3 separate regions of the Homo sapiens genome follow, and all the other regions are linked to region 2. Evidence: promoter capture Hi-C in 16 types of primary human blood cells and fetal thymus (Javierre and others, 2016). All regions are on one chromosome and are shown on one strand. Each heading gives the region's core, a stretch centred on a gene start or on the middle of the fragment in contact. The rest is flanking DNA. Distances are from core to core; before and after follow the strand shown.

Region 1 (4,663 bases), core at 292-2,791, 1.0 Mb before region 2:
TCTTTCTCTCCAACCTGTCCTTTGTAGACATCTGTTTTGCCTCCACCAGGGTCCCAAAGATGCTGGTGAATATCCAGGCACAGAGCAAAGTCATCACCTCTGCAGGCTGCATCACCCAGATGTACTTTTTCATACATTTTGTAGGATTGGACAGCTTCCTCCTGACTGTGATGGCCTATGACCGGTTTGTGGCCATCTGTCACCCCCTGTACTACACGGTCATCATGAACCCTCAACTCTGTGGATTGCTGGTTCTGGTATCCTGGATCACAAGTGTCTTGCATTCCTTATTACATAGCTTAATGGTGCTGCAGTTGTCCTTATGCAGAGAGTTGGAAATCCCCCACTTTTTCTGTGAACTTAATCAGGTCATCCACCTTGCCTGTTCTGACACCTTTCTTAATGACATGGTGATGTATCTGGCAGCTGTGCTGCTGGGTGGGGGGATGTCTCGCTGGGATCCTTTACTCTTACTCTAAGATAGTTTCCTCCATATGTGCAATCTCATCAGCTCAAGGGAAGTATAAGGCATTTTCCACCTGTCCGTCTCACCTCTCAGTTGTCTCCTTGTTTTACTGTACAAGCCTAGGAGTGTACCTTAGCTCGGCTGCATCCCACAACTCACACTCAGGTGCAATAGCCTCAGTGAGGTACACTGTGGTCACCCCCATGCTGAACCCCTTCATCTACAGCCTGAGGAATAAGGACATAAAGAGGGCTCTGAAGAATTCTTTGGGAGGGAAACTAGAAAAGGGCCAGTTGTCCTAGGGCTGAAGCTATATCCATGATTGCAAGGCTCAAAGCCTCAGAGCCAGATATTGCTGTTGTTTAATCAGATCATGGAAGTGGAAACTGCTCTTTTTTTTTTTTTTTTTTTTTTTTGAGACAGAGTTTTGCTCTGCTGCCCAGGCCAGAGTGCAGTGGCGCCATCTCCGCTCACTGCAAGCTCCACCTCCTGGGTTCATGCTATTCTGCTGCCTCAGCCTCCCGAGTAGCTGGGACTACAGGCACCCACCACCGCACCCGGCTAATTTCTTGTATTTTCAGTAGAGACGGGGTTTCACTATGTTAGCCAGGATGGTCTTGATCTCCTGACCTCGTGATCCAACCGCCTCTGCCTCCCAAAGTGCTGGGATTACAGGCGTGAGCCACTGCGCCGGGCTGGAAATTGCTCTATTTATTTCCTGAAGTTTCCATTTCTTTTATCTCAACTGCTTCATCAAATTTAAGCAACTCCTATTATTAAGCTTTCCTCTCTCTCTAATATTCAACAGATTTTCCCCTTGTTTTCCTCCTTTCTCAAAGTTATTCCCAACCTTGGGTCAGAAACAATTTGGAGATTCCCATTTGCCTCATAGGGTGATGAGTTGTACTATTCCTATGGAATAAACTACGCTTGGCACTGAGGCCATTTATGTAATTTTATTGGAGAAGAATTTCTGAGGCTATGGTTTTTCACTTTTTGTGTTTGTCATTCATTTCTGTATCACTACCTTAATTGATCTTCCTGATAATGTAGACTTAAACATACTAGGGTATTTTATAGCTGGTTATGGGATTTTTCACTCCCATTAGGATCCTGTTCTCTTCTTGAACTCAGTATTCATGAATTCTACTATATTTACTGGCACTGAGTACTTAGTCAAAAGTTGCTCATCAAATAAATGCTCCAAGCATAGTCTACACAGAAAGACAAACTGGCAAAAATCAATTGGCTTTACATGGACTTAGAGTTAGAGATGACGTTAAATATGATAGAGTAACATTTTCAATTATGTACTAAATTTCTATGGAAGGTTTGTTTTCAATGATGTACATCTACTCATTGAAGTGTGGAAGCTTGTTATTCATGTGTAATGAGGTTTGTTGATCTGAGTGAAAGATTTGGTGTCATGGTCTATATTATTTTATTGTATCATCTTGCTGTTTCTATTTGAAAATTCTAGTGTTACCTACAAATATGACTACTTACATTGTCCAAAAAATATTTCCCCCTTTAACAAATGTAATCATAACACAAAATACAGATGATTGAACAATATGTGTATTTACTTGATCATCAATTCCTTTACATCTTTTATAATCTAAATTCTTTTCAGTCCTCATGATCAAAGATTATTCTGTTGATATCTGGATATTTATATCTTTCCTGAAAGTTGGAAAGTTTTCAGTTATTTTTTTGATAAGCTTTCTGTCTCTTTGTTCATTCCTTCTCTTTCTTGATTCCTGTTAATTCAAATATTTACCCTCCTTATGCTGCCCCATAAAATCCCATAAGTTTTCTTCACTCCTTTTTATTCTGTTTTTCTCCTCTGAGTGTATGTTTTCTAATAATCTGTCTTCAAGTTCATAGATTATTTCTTCTGCTTTATTTCTTCTGCTTTATCAATCCTGCTGTTGACACTCTAGATTGCATTTTTCATTTCATTCATTGTATTTTTCATCTTGAGAATTTCTAGAGTTTTTTTATAATTTCAATCTCTCTGTTAAATTTCAAATTTTGTTCATTTATTGTCTTTCTGATTTTGGTGAATTGTTTCTCTGTATTTTCTTAAAGTTTGCTGCACTTCCTTAAAACAATTATTTTTGAATTCTTTGTCAGAAAGTTCATATATCTCCATTTCTTTCTTTTTATTTAAAATATATAAATAAATATATAATTGTTTTTTAAAAAAATTAAAAATCACAATACAACAATAAAAATAATACAAATTTTTAAATAAAGTATAACAACTATTTACAGAGCATTTACACTGTGTTCAGTATTATAAGTACTCTAGAAATGATTTAAAGTATACAGGAGAATGTGCATAGCTAATATGCAAATACTATGCCATTTTATATAAGGGACTTCAGCATCAGTGGATTTTGTTATATGCAGGGTGTCCTGAAACCAATCCCCTGCAAATAAGGAATGACTTACTATAAAGAAGAAAAGTGAGAGGTTCGCCCAGGAATAAGGCACTGACCAGATGAATGTTTCATCACTTGAACACATGAGCATTGTAAACCCTATAGTAGGTCTTCCCATCTGGTGAGAAAGATCTCATCTTGTTGATTATTCCTTCAGGCAGAAAATTGTCACTCAGAGGGGATGCTGTGTCTCACTATTCTTATTTTCTGGAACTGTTTTAATGGTATTTTATTTGGGCTTTAAAAATCAGTCCTAGCCATGCATAGTGGCTCATGCCTAAAATGTCAGCATTTTGGGAGGTTGAGGCAGGAGGATCACTTGAGCCCAGGTTGTTCCCAGACCAAAGCAAGGGTCAGGCTGCTTATTCTCATGGCCCATTAATGAGATGCAGATGAACTAGGGAGGAAAAGAGTTTTTATTTCTGTAACTGGTTACAGGGAGAAGGCCTGGAAATTACCACTGGATCAACTCAAAAATTACAAAGTCTTCCAGAGTTTATATACCTTCTAAGCTATATGTCTATGTGTAAGTGTGCATTCATCTAAATACATAAGTGATTAACTTCTTTTAATCTATAACTAAGATCTGAGTCCTGAAGACCTTCCTCTGGAGCCTCAGTAAATTCACTTAATCTAAATGGGTCCAGGTGCTGGGGTGATTACCCTTATCTTGTCTCCTGCTAAATCATGGAGGTTTAGGGAGTTCCTTCAGACCCCCAACAAACTTGTTTGTGGAGGCCTGGGGAGTTTCTTCAGACCCCCAATAAAACTTGTTTAATCCTAAATGGGTCCTGTTAAGAATTCCTTCATTATCTTCTCACGTTTCAGGGCCCAGGAAAGGCCTAGGCAAAGCTCTGGGTAGCCTTTTTTTTTTACATTCCAGCCTTTGTATAAAGGCACTGGCCCTATCAGTTTTTAATATTTAACTTAACCACTCAGTCAGTGCTGAAACAGTTGTTAGAGAGGTCTGCTTTAGTAGGACCTAGCCTGCTACAAGGTGTTTGAGACCAGCCTGGCCAACATAGCAAGACCCCATCTCTACCAAAAAAAAAAAATGAAAAAAAAATTAGTCCTTTGTGAATTGTTAAAGACGGTCTATATTCTCTGGAATGGAATAACAAGCAGCATCCAATGGACTTGTTTTGAACCTGTAAAAGTGTAGATACCTGCAGGGTCCTGCCTGGACAGCCAGGCAAACCACCTCTCATCTTCTCTTCGCGTACCTGGAACTTTCTCTATATTGCACCTTCAATAGTAAGAATAGAACTTGTGGCAAAGTCATTGGAATGGTTTTGTTCAGAGTTGTGTGTGGTCCCTGTCCACAACTCCAAGTTAAGTTGCTCAGGACTCAAAGGTCTTTTTAAAAAACAAAAAAACAAAACCTGCCTGCTCGTGCGCAAAGAAACTCCATCTAAAATGTTGAGGCCAGGCGCGGTGGCTCTCACCTGTAATCCCAGCACTTTGAGGGGCTGAGGCCAGTGGATCGCTTGACGTCAGGAGTTTGAGACCAGCCTGGCCAACGTGGCAAAACCCCGTCTCTACTGAAAATACAAAAATTAGCCTGGCATGGTGGTGGGTGCCTGTAGTCCTAGCTACTCGGGAGGCCGAGGCAGGATAATTGCTTGAACCCGGGAGGCGGAGGTTGCAGTGAGCCGGGATTGTGCCACTGCACTCCAGCCTGAGCGACAGAGCAAGACTCTGTCTCAAAAATAAATAGATAAAAATAAAAAAATAAAATGTTGAGGAAACC
Region 2 (4,352 bases), core at 111-2,610:
GGAATGAGTGAGTGAGGAGAGGAATGAGTGAGTGAGGAGAGGAATGAGTGAGTGAGGAGAGGAATGAGTGAGCGGGGAGAGGAATGAGTGAGCGAGGAGAGGAATGAGTGAGTGAGGAGAGGAATGAGTGAGTGAGGAGAGGAATGAGTGAGTGAGGAGAAGAATGAGTGAGTGAGGAGAAGAATGAGTGAGTGAGGAGAGGAATGAGTGAGTGAGGAGAGGAATGAGTGAGTGAGGAGAGGAATGAGTGAGTGAGGAGAAGAATGAGTGAGTGAGGAGAGGAATGAGTGAGTGAGGAGAAGAATGAGTGAGTGAGGAGAGGAATGAGTGAGTGAGGAGAAGAATGAGTGAGTGAGGAGAGGAATGAGTGAGTGAGGAGAAGAATGAGTGAGTGAGGAGAGGAATGAGTGAGTGAGGAGAAGAATGAGTGAGTGAGGAGAAGAATGAGTGAGTGAGGAGAGGAATGAGTGAGTGAGGAGAAGAATGAGTGAGTGAGGAGAGGAATGAGTGAGTGAGGAGAAGAATGAGTGAGTGAGGAGAAGAATGAGTGAGTGAGGAGAGGAATGAGTGAGTGAGGAGAAGAATGAGTGAGTGAGGAGAGGAATGAGTGAGTGAGCAGAGGAATGAGTGAGTGAGGAGAAGAATGAGTGAGTGAGGAGAAGAATGAGTGAGTGAGGAGAGGAATGAGTGAGTGAGCAGAGGAATGAGTGAGCGAGAAGAGGAATGAGTGAGTGGGCAGAGGAATGAGTGAGCGGGGAGAGGAATGAGTGAGCGGGGAGAGGAATGAGTGAGCGGGGAGAGGAATGAGTGAGCGGGGAGAGGAATGAGTGAGTGGGCAGAGGAATGAGTGAGTGGGCAGAGGAATGAGTGAGCGGGGAGAGGAATGAGTGAGTGGGCAGAGGAATGAGTGAGCTGCCTCCCTCTCTTCTCTGTGTTCCCACACCCCAGCCACCCTCAAAACCCAGCTCCCTGAGCCCCATTCCTGCCCCTCAGGAACTCCATGCATCCTGAGACCCCAGACCCGTCCTGCTGACAAACTCACCAGGCCCTGGTGTCCCCAAAACCAGTTCTGTTTCGGGGGTTGAGGAAAACACTGGAGGCGGCGGCAGTTGTCATAGAAGGTGTAGGTCCAGGCCAGGACGCGGGCCAGGAGCCAGGAGCCTCCAACCAGCAGCAGAAGCAGCCACGGGGATGCTGCCACGGGCCCGAGGCCCAGCCAGGACAGGCTCAGCTGCGGCATCCTGCAGGGCAGACGGGATGGAGGGTGGGATCCTGAGGCCCAGGGAAGGGCCCAGGAAGCTCCAAGGACAGTGGAAAGGGGCAAGGATGGGCAGTGCTGGAGGCAGATCAGGGAAGGCTCTGAGATGGGTAAACAAGAGCTGAGATCTAAAGTCCAGAAATGCCCAATGAAAACCAGCAGCCAAGTGGCCTCCAGTTACACAGAAAGGGAAAGAGAGAGAGAGGCTGATTAGAATCCAAAAAGGCCCAGCCTGAATCACTGGGAGGTTGCCAGGGGTCCAGTTACCAGGAAATCACCAGTCTCCCAGGCCAGCAGCCTTGACCCACCCCAACCTTGGGCAGTCCCCTCCCCATCCCAGGCCAGGACCCTCCAGCCCTGCCACTGCCAGCCTGGCTCCTATCAGAAGCAGCTTGTCCCACATACCCTCCTCTCCCCCTCTGCTAGGAGGTCTTTGCCTCTGGCCCCTGATTTCCGGAAGGCTGTGGGAGGCGAGGCTGGGCTGGGCTGGTCGAGCCAATCCCCATGGACTGGGTGTGTCTTCCAAGCCTGGGCAACCAACCAAAACCTGGCGTAGGGCCAGCTGGGTGCAGAGGAGCCAGCTCAGGGTGACACAGCATGGGCACAGGATCCGCAGGTCTCAACATCTCACACCTGAGTGGGAGGGGATCTTGAGGAAGAGTCAAAGGTGACTCTGAGCCCCAAAGTTTACAGCCACCTTGCCCTTCCAAGGCAAGAGTGTGGCAGATAAAGTCATGAACTTGAGAGTTCAGGTGGCAAGAGAGTGGGGCCAGGCCAACCATTGTGCCAGATCATGTTCTGAGCTCCTCTCCACATGTGGTCCAGGAGTTCATCATGCACCATTTCTCAGTGCAGACTTAGGAGATTCAGAGACAGAAGCTCCTGGCCTCTGGCTTCACAGTCTGGCAGGAGTTCAAGTCCTGCCTCCAGGCAACCCAGGGCCTGGGTCGAGACATGACTGACAGGAGTAGGAACAAACTATCTAACTGTGCTGGGGATTACCCGGTCAGATTTTAGAGATAAAGAGCCCCGCTGGAGGAGAATACCTGGAGGCTAGGTTCAGCATAGGAGGACAGAGAGGGGAGATGGGAGGTAAGGCTGAGAGGGGCCATGAGTGGATGGGGCCAGGGACAGGAGGGCAGAGATGGGGGACCCTGAGTGGAGTCCTTATTCTGCCCTCCCCTTGCCCTAACTGTGGGTAGTGAGCCCCTCCTGGACTCAGGCTTCCCATCTGGGAAATGGGATGTCAGATAAGGCCTTAGAGGGGGACAGAGGAGGGATCACAGGAAAATGGGCCTTAGATGGGGACAGATGAAAGATTCTGAGGAGGGAGTGAAGGGAAGGGGCTGGCAGCTAGCACTTTAGCTGCTGTGTGTCAGTCTCTGCTCTTTGCAAAAGACAATATGCAAAGTTCTTTTACTGTGTACTGGACTCTAAATAAAGCACACCTACCATGTGCCAGGTACTCTGTATACATGTTGTGTACTGTGTGCCAAGTGCTCTATGAAAAGTGTGTCCACTGTGTGCTGGGCGCTCTACAGAAAATCTTGCTTCTTTGTTCTCGGTCCTCTATATAAAGTGAAATTTGTGCGGAGTAACTTATGTAAAGTGTACCTACTCTGCACCTGCTGCTCTATATAAAACACACCTACTGTGTGTCAGATGTTCTATGTAGAGCATGTTTACTACGTGCCTGGTGATCTATGTCAAGTGCACCTACTGTGTGTCAAGTGCTCTACATAAAGCGTGCCTACTCTGGGTGCTGGGTACTCTTCATAAACTGTGACTCCATGTGTCCGGTACTCTACATAAAGCACACCTACTGTATGCCAGATGCTCTACATAAAGTGTTCTTTCTGTGTGTCAAGTGCTCTACATAAAGCGTGCCTACTCTGGATGCTGGGTACTCTTCATAAACTCTGACTCTGTGTGGCCGGTACTCTACATAATGCACACCTACTGTGTGCCAGATGCTCTATATAAAGTGTTTTTTCTGTGTGTCAAGTGCTCCACATAAAGTAAAACTACTCTATGTAAAGTTCTTGACATAAAGAATGCCTACTGTGTGCAAGGCACTCTCCACAAAGCACTCCTACTATGTGGCAGGGGCTCTAGGTAAAGCATGCCTACTGTGTTCCACCTACTCTAGGTCAAGTGCACCTGCTCATGTCAGATGCTCACCCGCGTCACCATGCCCAAAGCCTTCACACCAACCTCCCCTCGGTTCTCTGAGCCAGAGCCCTGGGATTGTTGGAGAGACCTGAGTGATGGCATCCAGAGAAGGGAATGCATCCATTTAACAAAAGAGCAAACTGAGTCTCAGAGAGGGCAGGCCTCTAGCCCAAGTTACAGAGCTCACAGGAAGCCAGGTTTGTGAGATCCTCAAGCCCAAACCTTTTTCCTCTGCCATGCTGTTCTGCACCCATTCATTAGGGTCAATGCCATATTAATACAGGGACATGTATAAATGGAGGAATCTCAGGCAATGTCATGGTCCCAGAGGGGAAATATCTTGAGGTCTTTGAATCAGCACCTGGCTCCTCCTCCCACACCCCGGATGCTCCACCCAGCAGACCCAGGGCTCCCCTCCTGGCCCTCCTTGTATCCTGTCCAGAATTGCCCTGCCGGGTGGACTTGGGTGAGGGGGTGCTTGAAGGATGGGGCTCCTAGCACAGCTGCTAAGCAGGAGGGCAGGGAAGACAGTGCTCCTGACACTGGCTGGGTGTTGGGGAGCCCCAAAGCCTCCCCCACCCCACCACCACTGCCAGCTCAATCAACCAGGGGATTCAGGCTCCTGGCCCTACAGCCTCAGTGGGGTAGGGTGCATCCCCCAAAATCCCTACTCCCTCTGCAAGGACAGACCTCACCTACTGGCAGTTCCATCCCTGTTAGGCTCAGGGAGCAAAGCCAGAGTTTGATGAACAGGCGGGGTTATAGGGACACAGAAGAAAGCGCTCCCAGTGGCTAGAGGGGTTTGGCACACTGTAGACCACCTGTGTGCCTGGGATGAGCAGGCAGCCTAGAGCAGGAATGGTGGCCACCACCATTTGCCGACATAACCTACACAGCCTGTTTTAAGTCCTTTAAGTATATT
Region 3 (4,514 bases), core at 755-3,254, 1.0 Mb before region 2:
AGTCTTGAACACTTACGGAATGACAGGAAATGAAACTTCTAGAAGTTCCACTTACCTTATGAAGTTTAGGTGAGAAGGAGTAAGACTTCAAAGCCCATTGGAAGTTACTTGGCGCAGAGCAGGTGTTCAATGGATAGCAGATATTTGGACCATGTCCTAGTTTCCCAGTTACTCTGCTCATTGTGACACCAGAAAGGTTTCTTGCTACAGTCTAGCACTGTCCTGCTTTGAGGAGACAGCAAGTTGTGATCATGAAGGGAGACCTCCTTCCAGGGCCCTGCACAAGGAGGAGAGTGCCTGAGAGTCTATCATTCTATGCTTTGTTGACATAAAATCATTCATCATTGTCTCTGTCACCCTCATGCTGGCTCCAAATACTCACAGTAGATATGTCTGACTCTTTAACTATCTTCTACTTTTGAGAATATCTGTAAAGCTGATGTTTCTTAGTGTATCAAATTATCCACCTAATCTTCTAGGAGCTCCTCCAACTCTTCATGGAAATCTTATCTTCCTGGCTTCTAGGTGATAGCATGTAATTCATACATATTTAATGTATACTGAAGTATAAAATGCTTGCATGTCTGTTTTTCTCCCAGTAGATAATTATTTTCCACTTATTTATTAACTCTTAGATAATTAGACACCTCTTTCTGTATTTTTGTGTTGCCTTTCTATGTTGCCTTTAGGAGGATCAGTCTTCTCCACCTTTGGCTCTGGATTTTGATGATGCCTCAACTGGGAGAAGTGTAACACCTACGATGATTGAGACATTCTTTGTCTGATAGGATGTGAGTGGTCATGAGATGTTCAATCTGTGAGAAGAAGCTGTAAGAGGCATTGTGAGATGACACCACTTCTGTTGCTCTTCCTCTTTCAAATTGTCCTTGCTCTATTATTTAAAAGTCCAATAATAACAAATGCTGGTGAGAGTCTGGAGAAAAGGAAATACTTCCACACTGCTTTTGGGAATGTAGATTAGTTCAGCCATTGTGGAAAGCAGTTTCACAGTTCTCAAAGACCTTAAAACAGGATTACCACTTCACTCAGAAATTCTATTATTGGATATATACCCAAAGGAATGTAAATCATTCTACTATAAAGACATATGCATACATATGTTCATCACAGCACTATTCACAATAGCAAAGACATGGAATCAACCTGAATGTCCATCAATAGTAGACCGAATAAAGAAGATGTGGTACTATACAACATAGAATACTACAGAGTCATCAAAAAGAATGAGACTGTGTCCTTTGCAACAACGTGGTTGGAGCTGGAGGCCATAATTCTTAGCAAACTAACGTAGGAACAGAAAACCAAATACCACATATTCTCATTTACAAGTGGGAGCTAAATAATGAGAACACATGGACACAAAGAGGGGAACAACAGATACTGGGGCCTCCTTGAGTGTTGAGGGTGGTAGGAGGGTTAGGATAAAAAAAACTATGTATCAGGTATGCTTATTAAGCGGGTGACAAAATACTCTGTACACCAAACCCTCACAACAAACAGTTGGCTTATATAGCAAACCTGCACATGTACCCCTGAACCTAAAATAAAAGTTAAAAAAAGATTGTCCTTACTGCCCAACATTCAAGAGCTAATTAAGCTTGGATAGTCCTATGGCTGAATATTTTTGTCTTGTCCAGGATATATATGTCCTAATCCCCAATGAGAAAACTTCCACAATGTAGACTCTGATGTGATTTTTTAAAAGCATGACTTTAAATCATTTATTATTGGGATGTTTTGTTACACAACATTAGATTACTGATACAATAATCAAAGCAACATAACTAAAGATATTCAGAATTATCTTTTTTTAGGTGTCAGATCCTTTTGTTTTTTAGTTTTTTATTGGATTCACTGTATACAGAATATTCTGTTGGCTCTTTTTTTTTGGTGCTTTTTCTGATATCAGAAAGCAGTGTTCATAATTATATGGATATTTATATTTACTTCACATAACTGTATCATAGGATGACTACTTTTAGATTTCCTCTAGGTAACCAGAAGAGTTTGGCAGGACATGTATATTTTTGCTGAAACAAATTGCAACCTGGAATCTCAAGTCTCTAATCTCACATGCAATACTGGGAAGAAATTCAAGCTCTTATGTGAGTCATCATTAGAGAGTTTGGAGTATAAAAGAGATAAAGCAAGTGATGATACAGTAAATACACATATCCTTCACTTACCTCCAGTTTAATGCTTGTGACATAATTTATTAAAGGGAGTGATAGTTTTAGAACAATGCAAGAAGTCATATTTGTAGCACTGGAAACTTTTAATCAGAAACAGAAAGATGATGCAATCAAATAATGTAGATCATGACACCAAATCCTTTACCTAAATGAACAAACCTCATTACCCATGGACAACAAGCTTCCACCCTTTAATGAGTTGTATTAGTCCGTTTTCACACTGCTGATAAAGACATACCCAAGACTGGGTAATTTATAAAGAAAAAGAAGTTTAATGGACTCACAGTTCCACGTGGCTGGGGAGGCCTCACAATCACAGCAGAAGGCCAAAGGCATGTCTTGCATGGCGGCGGGCAAGAGAGCATATGCAGGGGAACTCCCCTTTATAAAACCATCAGATCTCATGAGACTTATTCACTGCCATGTGAACAGCATGGGAAAGACCTGCCCCAATGATTCAATTACCTCCCACCGGGTCCCTCCCATGACACAAGGAAATTATGGGAGCTACAATCAAGGTGAGATTTGGGTGGAGACACAGACAAACCATATCACACACCATCAAAAACAAATCTTCCACGATAATCACTGCATGACTGAAAATTTTAGTCCATCATATTTAAGGTCGTCTCTGAATCTGAGGCCATATGAAGTCAATTGATTCATGCAAATGTGTCTTTCTGTGTAGACTACACTAGGAACATGTATGTTATAAGTAATATTCGCCTTCCTCCTCTTTACCAGGGAATATAGTAGGCAGTGTAGACACTGAGCTGGATAGCAGACAGGATCCTAATGAGGAGAATAAAATGCCATGATGATTATAAACACACCAGCATGGTCAAGTTTACATAATCAGGAAGAACAGTAAAGGTAGTAAGAAATGAAGGACTCAGAAGTAAAAAACTGTGATCTCAGATATTCATCTATAATATGATTATACCAATGACCTTACATTTGCCAAGTGCAATTGATTTTTTAGGACTGATACAACTCTCTAGTGTATTAGACAAATAGGAATCTCCAAAAGTGTTTTACCCTAGTTTGGAAATAACTATGGGAAATTAGGAAAATGACAAACAAAAAGTAAGTTGGATATCAGAGCAGAAAGCTTTCTAAAGAAATAGCATAAGTCTGACACAGCACTTGAGAACAAGGAAATTAAAACTCTAGAAACTGAATAGAAGCAGAACATTCTCTTTCCCTCCTTCCATGATCTGATTCGTGAATCACAATGTTTGAGTTCGGTTAGAGCTTTGAAATCACATGTACTTCTTGAAAGATGCTCATTTTATTTCTTCCTTCTGAAGAATTGTTTTAGAGCCCCCTTTATGTCTTTATTCCTCAGACTGTAGATGAAGGGGTTCAGCATGGGGGTGACCACAGTGTACATCAGAGGCTGTTGCACTTGAGAGTGAGTTGTGGGTTGCAGCAGCACTAAGGTACACCCCAAGGCTCATACAATAAAATAAGGAGACAACTGAGAGGTGCGATGCACAGGTGGAAAATGCCTTGTACTTCCCCTGAGCTGATGAGATTGCACGTATGGAGGAAACTGTCTTAAAGTAAGAGTACAGGATCCCAGTGAAACATCCCCTACCTAGAAGCACAGCTGACAAATACATCACCATGTCATTAAGAAAGGTGTCAGAACAGGCACTGCGGATTATCTGATTAAGTTCACAGAAAAAGTGGGGGATTTTCAAGTCTGTACAAAAGAGCAGTGGCAACACCATTAAGCTTTCTATCAAGGAATTCAGGGCACTCATGATCCAGGACGCCAGAACCAGCAGTCCACAGAGCCGAGGGTTCACGATGACCGTGTAGTGCAGGGGGTGACAGATGGCCACAAACTGGTCATAGGCCATCACGGTCAAGAGTAAGCTGTCCAACACTATAAAGAGTACAAAAAAGTACATCTGGGTGATGCAACCTGCATAGGTGATGACTTTACTCTGTGTCCGGATGTTTGACAGTGTCTTTGGGACTGTGGTGGAGGTAACACAGATGTCTACAAAGGACAGGTTAGAGAGGAAGAAGTACATGGGGGTGTGGAGGTGGGAACCAGAGCAGATGGCCAGGATGATGAGCAGGTTTCCAAACACAGTTGTCAGATACATGGAGAGGAAGAGTCCAAACATAACGGGCTGCAATTCTGGTTCCTCTGAAAGTCCCAGAAGAAGAAATCCTAAAATCCTCGTACCATTCTCTGGTTCCATGTGGTTGAGGTGACTACCAGTCAGAGAAAGAGAACATGACCAATTTTTACTCAAAAGGGCATCACTCACATTGTTGAAAGAC

What was found. Contacts are between HindIII fragments. The CHiCAGO score rates a contact against its expected background, and 5 or more counts as called.
Region 1: a fragment that was not itself captured here is called in contact with the fragment with the promoter of CYP4F11 in region 2 in 1 of 17 cell types (M0 macrophages); the score reaches 5.6 in M0 macrophages.
Region 3: a fragment that was not itself captured here is called in contact with the fragment with the promoter of CYP4F11 in region 2 in 1 of 17 cell types (M2 macrophages); the score reaches 6.6 in M2 macrophages.

The regions. Positions count from the first base shown.
Region 1 is chr19:14,927,293-14,931,955 of GRCh38, forward strand. It overlaps the pseudogene OR7A15P. Among named protein-coding and RNA genes, the nearest start is that of OR7C2, 12 kb to the right of the region's middle. The HindIII fragment of the contact is 592 bases long and covers 1,246-1,837 here.
Region 2 is chr19:15,933,169-15,937,520 of GRCh38, forward strand. CYP4F11 (cytochrome P450 family 4 subfamily F member 11) reads right to left here and starts at 1,361. Exons shown (of 12, transcript NM_021187.4): 1 at 1,043-1,361. The coding sequence starts at 1,240. The HindIII fragment of the contact is 9,699 bases long and covers 1-4,352 here.
Region 3 is chr19:14,899,742-14,904,255 of GRCh38, forward strand. It overlaps the pseudogene OR7A3P. Among named protein-coding and RNA genes, the nearest start is that of OR7A17, 16 kb to the left of the region's middle. The HindIII fragment of the contact is 776 bases long and covers 1,617-2,392 here.